Linked DNA regions of Homo sapiens: region 1 is linked to region 2. Evidence: promoter capture Hi-C in human tissues and cell types (Jung and others, 2019). All regions are on one chromosome and are shown on one strand. Each heading gives the region's core, a stretch centred on a gene start or on the middle of the fragment in contact. The rest is flanking DNA. Distances are from core to core; before and after follow the strand shown. Region 1 has its middle 49 kb from the start of CBLN1. Region 2 holds the start of CBLN1 (cerebellin 1 precursor).

Region 1 (6,642 bases), core at 3,462-5,961, 50 kb after region 2:
AGTTCAATCAGTTCATTTTAATCACTCCTCTGGAGAGAAGTAAAACCCTGTGTTGAGGAATATGCAGCAATTTTATTGATGACAAGTTTAATTGTTTCATTTTTCCTTACTGTCTCCAACATACCCGACTTTTAATCAGTGGGAACTGAAGTTTAATGAAGTAAAGTCCACTTTTCCACAGTTCACAACTAGCTGGAAATAATTGGGCTGAGACTCCCATCCAGACACTGCAGAGCCGCTGGCATCTTCCTGAAAACTGGGCTTAATTGCTTTGCTGATGTTGTTAAGTAGTCCTTAGGGGGTGGAAATAGTAATGCTGCCCACATATGCTGGGAAACAATACCCCAAAATGTCCTAAAAGGGTTCTCAAAGTCTGTCCAATTGGTAGTGAGGAAGAAAAAATAAAACTGAGTGTGTTTTCTGTAGGCAGGGATCTGGGGGAGCATGCGGGGGCTGTAACATAAACTGCCACAATTTGATAAAGAGCAACATCAATATCAACATGAACAACTTTTTTCCTTCCTTTGAAAGCTAAGCAGGATTCCAAGAGCAGGTGTGAGCCTGTGAGTGTGTATGCCCATGTCTGTGTTTCTGCGGGGCAGTTTTAAGGAAAGCATTGAGTTTTCAGGGACAGGTGGCTGGCTCTGGTCTCTGAAAAGGAGGGCTCAAGGTGGCAAATCTGCAGGATTCTAGAGGGCACTGTCTCAGCCCCAAGTAGAGGTCGAGAGATTGGCTGGTCTGGAGAAATTCTAGAATCACAGAATCAAGGCTTGGAAAAGCCAGAGAGATTATTTTATTTCTCCCAACCCCTATACCTTTTACTTTACTTGAAGGAGATGATGATGATAGCAGCAATAACTGCTGGTTTTTGCTCACTTATTATATAGACAGATACTTGGGCTAAGTACTTTAATTTTGTTATCTTATTCCTCATTAAACCCAATAAACTGGGTGCTATTATTATCCCATATTACAAATAAAGAAAACAGATAAGCAAATCAATAAAGAGAATTGTTGCTTGGGATAAGTCCTGCAAAAAGTAACAGAGTAGAAGGTAACTCCCAGGAGTGGTAAGAGGCTTGGGTGGTCATGAAAGTCTCCTAAAGAGAATGTATGAGACCTGAATTATTTGCAGGCATTTGGGAGATTTTAGGTAAAGGTAACAGTAGTGCAAAACTCTTGGGGCAGGAATAAGCTTGGCTTGTGGAAGAGCAGGAAGAAGACCAATATGGCAGGAGCATAAAAAATGAGGAGAAAGGAGGTGGTGCTATGGTCTGAATCTTTGTGTCCCCTCAAAATTTCATAGGTTGAAACCTAATCCCCAATGCAGTAGTATTAAAGATGGGTCCTTTAGGAGGGGATTAGGTCATGAGAGTGGAGCCATCATCCATGAGATGGATGCTGTTATATAGGAGAGAGTCTGCCTGCCCTTTTGGCCATGTGAGGACGCAGCTAGAAGGCACCATCCATGAGGTATAGGCCCTCACCAAAAACGGAACCAACAAGTGCCTTGATTGTGGGCTTCCCTGCCTCTAGAACTATAATAGTTTCCTTTTTTAATAAGCCACCTAATTTCTGGTATTTTTGTTACAGTAGCTGGAATGAACTAAGACAAGTGGGATATGAAGTTGAAAGGAAGACAAAGAACATCTTGCAGTACCTGAAGACACAGGCTACAGAATTTGAATTTTGTTCTAATCTCAATAGGAATCTACTATAGGGTTCTAAACAAGAGAATGAGAACCTCTGATTTATTTGTTTTTATTTTTATGTTTAGGGCAGAGTTTCACTCTGTCACCCAGGCCGGAGTACAGAGGTGCAATCACATCTCACTGGAACCTCAAACTTCCAGGCTCAAGCAATTCCCCTACCTCAGCCTGCCAAGTAGCTGGGATGCCTGCCACCATGCCCTGTTAATTTTTAATTTTTTTTGTAGAGATGGGTCTTGCTATGTTGCCCAGGCTGGTCTCAAACACCGGGCCTCAAGTGATCCTCCTGCCTAGGCCTCCCAAAGCACTGGGATTACAGAGACGAGCCACCATGTCCAGCCTGACTTATCTTTTTTTATCTTTCTTTTTTTGTTATACTTTAAGTTTTAGGGTACACGAGTGCAACGTGCAGGTTTGTTACATATGTATACATGTGCCATGTTGGTGTGCTTCATCCATTAACTCATCATTTACATTAGGTGTATCTCCTAATGCTCTCCCTCTCCCCTCCCCACACCCCATGACAGGCCCCAGTGTGTGATGTTCCCCACCCTGTGTCCAAGTGTTCTCATTGTTCAATTCCCACCTATGAGTGAGAACATGTGGTGTTTGGTTTTCTGTCCTTGTGATAGCTCGCTCAGAATGATGGTTTCCAGCTTCATCCATGTACCTAGAAAGGACATGAGCTCATCCTTTTTCATGGCTGCATAGTATTCCATGGTGTATATGTGCTACATTTTCTTAATCCAGTCTATCATTGATGGACTTTTGGGTTGGTTCCAAGTCTTTGCTATTGTGAATAGTGCCACAATAAACATATGAGTGCATGTGTCTTCATAGCAGCATGATTTATAATCCTTTGGTTATATACCAGTAATGGGATAGCTGGGTCAAATGGTATTTCTAGTTCAAGATCCTTGAGGAATCACCACACTATCTTCCACAATGGTTGAACTAGTTTACTGTCCCACCAACAGTGTAGAAGTGTTCCTATTTCTCCACATCCTCTCCAGCACCTGTTGTTTCCTGACTTTTTAATAATCACCATTCTAACTGGTGTGAGATGGTATCTCATTGTGGTTTTGATTTGCATTTCTCTGATGGCCAGTGATGATGAGCATTTTTTCATGTGTCTGTTGGCTGCATAAATGTCTTCTTTTGAAAAGTGTCTGTTTATATCCTTTGCCCACTTTTTGATGGGGTTGTTTGATTTTTTCTTGTACATTTGTTTAAGTTATTTGTAGATGCTGGATATTAGCCCTTTGTCAGATGGGTAGATTGTAAAAATTTTCTCCCATTCTGTAGGTTGCCTGTTCATTCTGATGGTAGTTTCTTTTGCTGTGTAGAAGCTCTTTAGTTTAATTAGATCCCATTTGTCAATTTTGGCTTTTGTTGCCATTGCTTTTGGTGTTTTAAACATGAAGTCCTTGCCCATGTCTATGTCCTGAATGGTATTGCCTAGGTTTTCTTCTAGGGTTTTTATGGTTTTAGGTCTAACATTTAAGTCTTTAATCCATCTTGAATTAATTTTTGTATAATGTGTAAGGAAAGGATCCAGTTTCAGCTTTCTACATATGGCTAGCCAGTTTTCTCAGCACCATTTATTAAATAGGGAATCCTTTCCCCATTTCTTGTTTTTGTCAGGTTTGTCAAAGATCAGATGGTTGTGGATGTGTGTTATTATTTCTGAGGGCTCTGTTCTGTTCCATTGGTCTATATCTCTGCTTTGGTACCAGTACCTTGCTGTTTTGGTTACTGTAGCCTTGTAGTGCAGTTTGAAGTCAGGTAGCATGATGCCTCCAGCTTTGTTCTTTTGGCTTAGGATTGTCTTGGCAATGCAGGCTCTTTTTTGGTTCCATATGAACTTTAAAGTTGTTTTTTTCCAATTCAGTGAAGAAAGACATTGGTAGCTTGATGGGGATGGCAGTGAATCTATAAATTACCTTGGGCAGTATGGCCATTTTCACAATATTGATTCTTCCTATCCATAAGCATGGAACATTCTTCCATTTGTTTGTGTCCTCTTTTATTTTGTTGAGCAGTGGTTTGTAGTTCTTCTTGAAAAAGTCCTTCACATCCCTTGTAAGTTGGATTCCTAGGTTTTTTATTCCCTTTGAAGCAATTGTGAATGAGAGTTCACTCATGATTTGGCTCTCTGTTTGCTTATTATTGGTGTAGAGGAATGCTTGTGATTTTTACACATTGATTTTGTATCCTGAGACTTTGCTGAAGTTGCTTATCAGCTTAAGGAGATTTTGGGCTGAGATGATGGGGTTTTCTAAATATACAATCATGTCATCTGCAAACAGGGACAATTTGACTTCCTCTTTTCCTAATTGAATACCCTTTATTTCCTTCTCCTGCCTGATTGCCCTGGCCATAACTTCCAACACTATGTTGAATAGGAGTGGTGAGAGAGGGCATGCCTGTCTTGTGCCAGTTTTCAAAGGGAATGCTTCCAGTTTTTGCCCATTCAGTATGATATTGGCTGTGGGTTTGTCATAAATAGCTCTTATTATTTTGAGATACGTCCCATCAATACCTCGTTTATTGAGAGTTTTTAGCATGAAGGGCTGTTGAATCTTGTCAAAGGCCTTTACTGCAGCTATTGAGATAAACATGTGGTTTTTGTCTTTGGTTCTGTTTATATCATGGATTACGTTTATTGATTTGTGTGTGTTGAACCAGCCTTGCATCCCAGGGATGAAGCCAATTTGATCGTGGTGGATAAGCTTTTTGATGTGCTGCTGGATTCGGTTTGCCGGTATTTTATTGAGGATTTTTGCATTGATGTTCATCAGGGATATTGGCCTAAAATTTTGTTTTTTGTGTGGTGTGTCTGCCAGGCATTGGTATCAGGATGATTTTGGCCTCATAAAATGAGTTAGGGAGGATTCCCTCTTTTTCTACTGATTGGAATAGTTTCAGAAGGAATGGTACCAGCTCTTGTTTGTACCTCTGATAGAATTCAGCTGTGAATCCATCTGGTCCTGGACTTTTTTGGTTGGTAGGCTATTAATTATTGCCTCAATTTCAGAGCCTGTTATTGGTCTATTCAGGGATTCAAATTCTTCCTGGTTTAGTCTTGGGAGGGCGTATGTGTGCAGGAATTCATCCATTTCTTCTAGATTTTCTAGTTTATTTGTGTAGAGGTGTTTATAATATTCTCTGATGGTAGTTTGTATTTGTGTGGGATTGGTGGTGATATCCCCTTTATCATTTTTTATTGTGTCTATTTGATTCTTCTCTCTTTTCTTCTTTATTAGCCTTGCTAGCGGTCTATTAATTTTGTTGATCTTTTCAAAAAACCAGCTCCTGGATTCATTGATTTTTTGAAGGGTTTTTTGTGTCTCTATCTCCTTCAGTTCTGCTCTGATCTTAGTAATTTCTTCCCTTCTGCTAGCTTTTGAATATGTTTGCTCCTGCTTCTCTAGTTCTTTTAATTGTGATGTTAGGGTGTCAATTTTAGATCTTTGCTGCTTTCTCTTGTGGGTATTTAGTGCTATAAATTTCCCTCTACACACTGCTTTAAATGTGTCCCAGAGATTCTGATATGTTGTGTCTTTGTTCTCATTGGTTTCAAAGAACACCTTTATTTCTACCTTCGTTTCATTATGTACCCAGTAGTCATTCAGGAGCAGGTTGTTCAGTTTCCATGTAGCTGAGAAGTTTTGAGTGAGCTTCTTAACCCTGAGTTCTAGTTTGATTGCGCTGTGGTTTGAGAGACAGTTTGTTATAATTTCTGTTCTTTTACATTTGCTGAGGAGTGCTTTACTTCAAACTATGTGGTCAATTTTGGAGTAAGTGCAATGTGGTGCTGAAAAGAATGTACATTCTGTTGATTTGGGGTGGAGAATTCTGTAGATGTCTATTAGGTCTGCTTGATGCAGAGCTGAGTTCAATTCCTGAATATCCTTGTTAACCTTCTGTCTCGTTGATCTGTCTAATGTTGACAGTGGGGTGTTAAAGTCTCCCATTATTATTGTGTGGGAGTCTAAGTCTCTTTGAAGGTCTCTAAGGACTTGCTTTATGAATCTGGATGCTCCTGTATTGGGTGCATATATATTTAGGATAGTTAGCTCTTCATGTTGAATTGAGCCCTTTACCTTTATGTAATGGCCTTTTTTGTCTCTTTTGATCTTTGTTGGTTTACAGTCTGTTTTATCAGAGACTAGGATTGCAATCCCTGCTTTTTTTTGTTTTCCATTTGCTTGGTAGATCTTCCTCCATCCCTTTATTTTGAGCCTATGTGTGTCTCTGCATGTGAGATGGGTCTCCTGAATACAGCATACTGATGGGTCTTGACTCTTTATCCAATTTGCCAGTCTGTGTCTTTTAATTGGAGCATTTAGCCCATTTAAATTTAAGGTTGGTATTGTTACGTGTGAATTTGATCCTGTCATTATGATGTTAGCTGGTTATTTTGCTCGTTAGTTGATGCGGTTTCTTCCTAGCATCGATGGTTTTTACAATTTGGCGTGTTTTTCCAGTGGCTGGTACTTGTTGTTCCTTTCCATGTTTAGTGCTTCCTTCAGGAGCTCTTGTAGGGCAGGCCTAGTGGCGACAAAATCTCTCAGCATTTGCTTGTCTGTAAAGGATTTTATTTCTCCTTCACTTATGAAGCTTAGCTTGACTGGATGTGAAATTCTGGGTTGAAAATTCTTTTCTTTAAGAATTCTGAATATAGGCCCCCACTCTATTCTGGCTTGTAGAGTTTCTGCTGAGAGATCTGCTGTTAGTCTGATGGGCTTCCCTTTGTGGGTAACCAGACCTTTCTTTCTGGCTGCCCTTAACATTTTTTCCTTCATTTCAACTGTGGTGAATTTGACAATTATGTGTCTTGGAGTTGCTCATCTCAAGGAGTATCTTTGCGGAATTCTCTGTATTTCATGAATTTGAATATTGGCCTGCCTTGCTAGGTTGGGGAAGTTCT
Region 2 (6,343 bases), core at 3,094-5,593:
CTTTTCTCTTCTGCTTTATGAGCAAATGGACTAAATACTAGGGAATGGTACTGTCTGGGCCTTTGAACCAAGATTGAAAGAGATGAAATCCTATATGATATGTATAAACATTAGAGAATCCATTTTGATTTAATAAAAGGTTGAATTTGTTCTATATCCTGTGAGAAAATGGTTCCCTTTTCCTGAAAATGTTACCTCATTCCAACAATAGAAAGTTGGTTTTTTTCCAGGGTGTGGTGTTGGCGGGGGACAGAGTTGCCATGAATATGGCATCTATGAAGACTGCTGTTATATTCATTTCTCAAAATGCACTGTGGTAGGAAATTCAGAACGCAGTGAGAGAAAATAAATGTTTGACTTCAAAATATAAGGCCGCATTTAAAGCAGAAGGTAAAGTATAGAACAGTTGACAGTATAAATTCTTTATCTGCAATCTTGCAGTTCCCTAAATCTCTGTAACACATCACTTTTAAAAGCCTCAGATAAGTGGTTCTATAATAATTTACCAATAATTCAACCCCTCAAAAGTCTTAGCAAGTTAAACCTTATAATCTTACATTTTAGAAATGACCCAACTTGATCCTTTTATTCTTCAGAATATCTCTCTCAAATTTTCATTTGTTTTTCATTAATTGATGAATAATGAGACATTTTAGGTACCTGTCCACAAAGAAATGAAATTTTCACTTTCCAGGAACCTAACAAATGAAAAGATAGAAATCAATTCCAACAGAATATTACCAAAGAAATCTTTTAGAATGGACTGTTAAAATTATTTATTTGTATTTATCTGGCTCTACTATTTGTGGTACATTTCCACTTCAAAGCTAAACCTCAAATAACATCATAGTGAGTGGTTGACTTCATGTTTAACTGAGATCTTGAAGACTGAAAAAGACCACGACAAACACACATCTATTTTCTTGGCTACTGCATCCGTGTTCATCACCATTCTGATAGTCTGCAATGTATTGCAGCTCACCCTTTGGGAAGGACTAAAGTAGACATCTGTTTGTTCTGCTTACTCAGCATTCCTACCCTAATTTTCCTTTGGAGAACCCCTTTATTCTAGACCACGTGAAGCTAATGCCAAACCCCATTCCAGGGGATGCACCTGAATCCAACCTCCATCATCTAAACAGTGCCTTCTCCACGTTCAGAGAAGAGCAAGTGACTCAAACTGCCCTCATAAGAACAGACCTGGGACTTCTGCTGCAAATATTGAAGAGTAAGTACTCTTTTTTCTTGCTAGGACTAAGCTGGTAGTACCTTCTATGAGGCTATCATATGGAAACAACTTGTCTGAAAATGAAGCCACAACTAGAAAACAGATCCTGGTAACCCGGATTGATGGATCCAGCCCTACCTTAAATGGCAAGACCTAACCCGAGGCTTTTTGCATCAACCAATAAAGTCCTTAAGCCAGTTTGAGTTGGTTTTGTCACTTGCAGCTAAAAGAATTCTGACTCTAACAATGTGACAATAGCAAAAATAAACATAACTGCTTTTGAGGTTTCTAATGGATTTTCCTCCCTATATACATGATTTCATTTAATCCTCACAATTCAGGAAAGCACATATCTATTAACATTAAATTAATATTCATTATTTTGAACACATGCTATGTGGATAAGGGATGAGGAAAGCCAAGGAAGTAATCAACGTGAAATCTCACTTATATGGGAGGGAAGTGGAGGTTACATATCTCAGGGCACTTAACAGATATCATCAAATGAAAGAATAAACAGTGTGTGGGAGAGGCAGTAGGTGATTCTTCATCAATTCCTGGATGAAAAATTAGGAGATAATGAACTCCGAACAGGCAGCCTAATGAGAATGGCTCAAGCAACAGGACATAGAGAGGGAGTTAGGTTAGACATGGGGTTCTTGGGAATTTTCACCTCGTGGGGGGGCGGGGGGGTCGTGCAGCTGTTGTCAGTGGGAAAGGGAAAAAGGAAAAGGCTGAGTTTGGAAGGCAGGGAGGGAGGAGACAATGTGAGTCAGTGAAAAAGGGCCCTTAGAATGACAAGTCTGGACCAGAGAGAGGCTAAGACTGAAAATACAAGTTGGGTAACCACTGGCATACAGATGGCAGTTCAGGCTTGGGCACTGCCCACCAGAGCCTCAGCATGAAGAGAAGAGGGGGAGGCTGGCCACCACCTCCCTCTAGGTAATCGTCATCCTGATGCTGAGCTCCTGAAAACAGGCTCTTTCACTCGCCCCATCTCTTGCTCTTGATTGCAACCCGGCATTCAGGAGGCACCCTGTAATATCTGTGGAGTGACCGACAACACAGCGCCAGGGCACTGAGAAGATCCCAGGGCGCCAGGGACTGGTTCTACAAGGGTGCCCCTCCCGGTCCCCTCCAGCGCGCCGCCAGAGCTGCCAGTCTTGGCTGCTACACGGGAGGCAGCCTCATTATGCAGCTCTCACCTCTTAAATTAGTTCATGCTCTCACATTAGGTGTAATCACAGCTTGCAACGCTTTCTGGGGATGTCTCAGAAAGATCTGAGTTGAAAAAATATTTTTGTGTCATTTTAATTTAAAGTAAAATTGCTGCTTCTTCCCCGCCCCTTTCTTTCCTCCTGGCCCACCCAGCGACCCTGGCCGGCCGTGCTCAACGGGGGCGGGGGTCGGAGGTGAGATTTCCTCCACATAATTCCTTAAACAGCTATCAACTAAGTCTCAAAGAAAAAAAAAAGAGATCTAGAAGCAGAGACGTGGCTGCTGGCGATCCCAAAGCTGGTGTTCGCTCTTGGGGGAGAGCGTACCCTGGGGGAGGCCGGGAGGCCGGGCCAGAGGCTAGCCCAGAGGCAGAGGGCAGGAGCGCTCAGCCGGCGCCCCGCGTCTCTCCAGCTCCCGACGCTGCGCTGGCTCCGCTGAGCACGCCAGGATCAAGGTCGCCTGGTGGGGACCGGAGCGCCAGGAGCCTGTGGGAAGCGTTCCAGCCGGCCTCTGACTGGGATCCGGCGCCGCGTTTCTGCTTTGGACTTGACTGACAGGTCCCCCCGCCCTCCCGCCGCCCTACTACCAGCCTGGGTTCATCCTTCAGGGCTACGTCTACCGCACCCGGGCTGGAAAGCCTGGAGCGCGCCCTTCCTCTCCTCATCTTCTCAGCTCTCCTTTCTCCCTGCCACTTGGCAAAGCTGCATTTTGACTTTCACGTTTTGGACTACGTGTGTGTAGTTCCAAGTCCATGCGTGGCACGAAAATCCACTTAGGGTAAAAATTATTCTCGAAAAATCGCCCATCTCAGGATCTGGTGTCTACACTCAAGGCTAGGAGGTGCAGGTACGGGTGCGTAAAGCATGCCGTAAGGGTGCACAGTAAATAAAAAGTACGGATGCAAAATGTAAATTTTAAGTGCAAAACAGAAAAGCAGTACTCGTTGCCGCCCCGCACGCTGGGTTTTAAGGGGCACGAAGGTGGGCCTCGGCTGCTTTTGCTCAGCCCCGCGTCCTCAGCGCCCGGCCCAGTACCCGGTACTCCGTAGGGGTTCAATGATCTCCCCTGAATAAGTGAACGAATTAACAAATGAATGAATGACCGCTCGATCCGACCTCCGCGGCCGGCAGAGCAGTCGCTGGAGAGGCGGGAGAGAGCGAGAGGCCAAGCTCCACCATCGCGGCCGCCGGCTGGGGCAGAGGGACACGGAGACACTCGGCGCCCCGGCTCCGCACCGAGTCCCCGCGGTGAGTGCCCGCCCAGCAGCTCCCGGGCACCACGTGCGCCCGCCAGAGCCGCGCAGGCCCCGCCCCGCCGCGCGCGCACGCGCCCTGCACCCCGGCCGCCGGGACCCTGAGCCAGGCTCGCCCAGCGCGCCGGCTGCCCTCGCGCCCGCGCCCGCTGGGGGGCGCTCCCCTCCCAACGGGCGCGCCCACAGGCGGGCAGGCGACTCGCAGCCTCCAGCGATTCCACTCCCGACCCCGGGGCGCGCCGCCTCCTACCTGAGGGCCGACGAGTGGGGGCGGGCAGGAGGGCCGAGGGAGGCGGAACAGGATCGAGGCGCGAGGCGGGAGTCGAGAAAGCGAGCGGCCGAGGCGACTCTCAGTGCGCGGACGCGGGCGCGCGCCCGCGCTCCCTTCGTCGACTCACGGCGAGAGCCCAACCCTGCTGCCGCGCGCCACCCGCCTCGCCGCGCCTAATAACAACGGCGCCCGGGGTCAGGTGGCCGAGCGCGGACAGCGCCGCCATTGGCTCGGTGGGGAGCGCGGCGCGTCAGGATTGGCTGGGGGGCGTGGCCTCGGCCGGGGCGGGGGCAGGGCCTCGGAGGGAGGCGGGCCGGGAGGCGGCGGGGGCGGGGCCAGGCCGAGGTCCGCGCCTTTGTGCCCGGCGCGCGCTCTCCGCCCGCTCCGGCTGCAGCGCCGGCTGCATCAATAATTCAGAGCGGCGGCGGCGGCGGCAGCGGCGGGTGCGGGCAGGAGGCGGCGGCAGCAGCGGGACCGAGCAGCAGCGGCTATGCATCCAAGTGCGGCTGGGCAGCCGCGGCACCCCTGAGGCCCGGGAGGGGCTCCGGGAACACAGCGCGGAGGGGACGCTAGTCGCGGAGGGGACGCTAGTCCCGGAGTGCGAGGAAGAGGTGTAGTGTCCAGAGCGGCGGCGGCGGAGCTGCGCACGGAGCTGAGGAGGGGGCTTCGGAGCGGGACTGGGACGGGGGGGGCGGCTGGCGCGAGCAGCCCTGGGGGTGGGGGGCGGGGTGGGCGCCGGCGGCGCGATGCTGGGCGTCCTGGAGCTGCTGCTGCTGGGGGCTGCGTGGCTGGCGGGCCCGGCCCGCGGGCAGAATGAGACGGAGCCCATCGTGCTGGAGGGCAAGTGCCTGGTGGTGTGCGACTCCAACCCCACGTCCGACCCCACGGGCACTGCCCTGGGCATCTCTGTGCGCTCTGGCAGCGCCAAGGTGGCTTTCTCTGCCATCAGGAGCACCAACCACGAGCCGTCCGAGATGAGTAATCGCACCATGATCATCTACTTCGACCAGGTGAGTGTTCCTTCCTCCCGCGGCGTGCAGATTGGGCTGGTGAAGGAGGGATGGATGGAAGACCGATGCCCGGTCCTCTCCAAGGGCTCTGCGGAGGCGCGGGGACGACAGTCCGGGACCGATTCCTGCCCACTCCCCTTCGTTCCCGTCTCGTTATAGGTACTAGTGAACATTGGGAACAACTTTGATTCAGAACGCAGCACTTTCATCGCCCCGCGCAAAGGGATCTACAGTTTTAACTTCCACGTGGTAAAAGTCTACAACAGACAAACCATACAGGTCAGCCGACGCCTCGTGCCGGGCCCTGGCCCCGTAGGGGGGTTACTGGCCTCAGGGGTGCTCGGGCTGTCCGGAGGTGGTAGGCAGAAGTGGCGGCTGCATGTACTTCGGGCTGCTTGGAGGGACAGATAGCGGGGCCTCTCAGTTCTGTGGCTTCAACTGTCCTCTGCTTTCCCTGTCTCTGGCTCTTGGGATCCAGCCCCATCCCCCGAGAGACAGAATTTTCTGCTTCTGCCTTCCGGGCCTCTCCGAAGGGTTCCCTGGATTTCAGGGACTTCCTTGTAACGGCTGTTGTTAGCGCCCCAGACAGCTGCCGCTTGGGAAGCCTTCCCGGACTCCCCAGGAAGCACCGCGACAGTACACCCTACCCCTTGCCCCGGCTCAGAAGCCTGCGATGCGGCTTGCGTGCTTGTCTTCAGCACCACGGACGGGGCCCCCGTTTTCTCCCACTTGTCCCCAATCCCCACCCCGTGCGGACTGTGGGTTTTTGAGCTAGCAGCATTTAGCCCCGGAGGGTGAGGGGTAGAGAGAGGAGGGAGGGAGGGGGCGTAGTGCTACTCTCTCCCGGCTCCAGCCGTGTCCCAGCAATCACTCGCCGGCTCTCCGGGTCCCCAAAGATGTCCAGGTTTCCCTTGGGCGCCGAGAGAGGTGGGACGCACAGCTGGGGAGAGGGCGCGAGGCCCTTGGCTGACGGTGCCACCACAGGGGCAAAACCAGGCGGTGGCGGGCGCGGCTGGATGGGGGAGGGAATTGAGCCCGTGGTTTGGGGAGGAAATACATTGTGCCGCTCGGTGCGAGACTTCTAATCACAAATCACAGTGGCTTCTCCACTGTGTCCTGGCAGCTGGGTCCAGGAGGGATCAGGGGCTTTTTGTTTGTTCGTTTTTGTTTTTCCGGTAGCGCCAGAAGGAGCCTGAGTTGCTGGGTTTTTTTTGTTTGTTGTTTGTTTTTTGAGGCTGAGGGGAAACGGGAGAGAGGTCAAAGGTCTCAGGGCGCTAGAGCCACCTCATGGGTTTATTAAATTGGATCACAGAGCACAGTCGAGATTCGCTTGGCGCGCTCATTTGAGAAACTGGAATAAGAGC

Evidence for each region. Contacts are between HindIII fragments. The study calls those that stand out against the background at their distance.
Region 1: a fragment that was not itself captured here is called in contact with the fragment with the promoter of CBLN1 in region 2 in 2 of the 25 tissues and cell types used here (H1 embryonic stem cells and aorta).

The regions. Positions count from the first base shown.
Region 1 is chr16:49,229,664-49,236,305 of GRCh38, reverse strand. No RefSeq gene overlaps it. Among named protein-coding and RNA genes, the nearest start is that of CBLN1, 49 kb to the left of the region's middle. The HindIII fragment of the contact is 3,786 bases long and covers 2,819-6,604 here.
Region 2 is chr16:49,279,838-49,286,180 of GRCh38, reverse strand. CBLN1 (cerebellin 1 precursor) reads left to right here and starts at 4,343. Exons shown (of 3, transcript NM_004352.4): 1 at 4,343-4,979; 2 at 5,139-5,258. The coding sequence starts at 4,716. SYNAGE (synapse stability regulating cerebellar lncRNA) reads right to left here and starts at 4,119. Exons shown (of 4, transcript XR_933530.4): 1 at 3,949-4,119. RefSeq lists silencers at 3,690-3,789, 4,160-4,269 and an enhancer at 4,622-5,239. The HindIII fragment of the contact is 18,550 bases long and covers 1-6,343 here.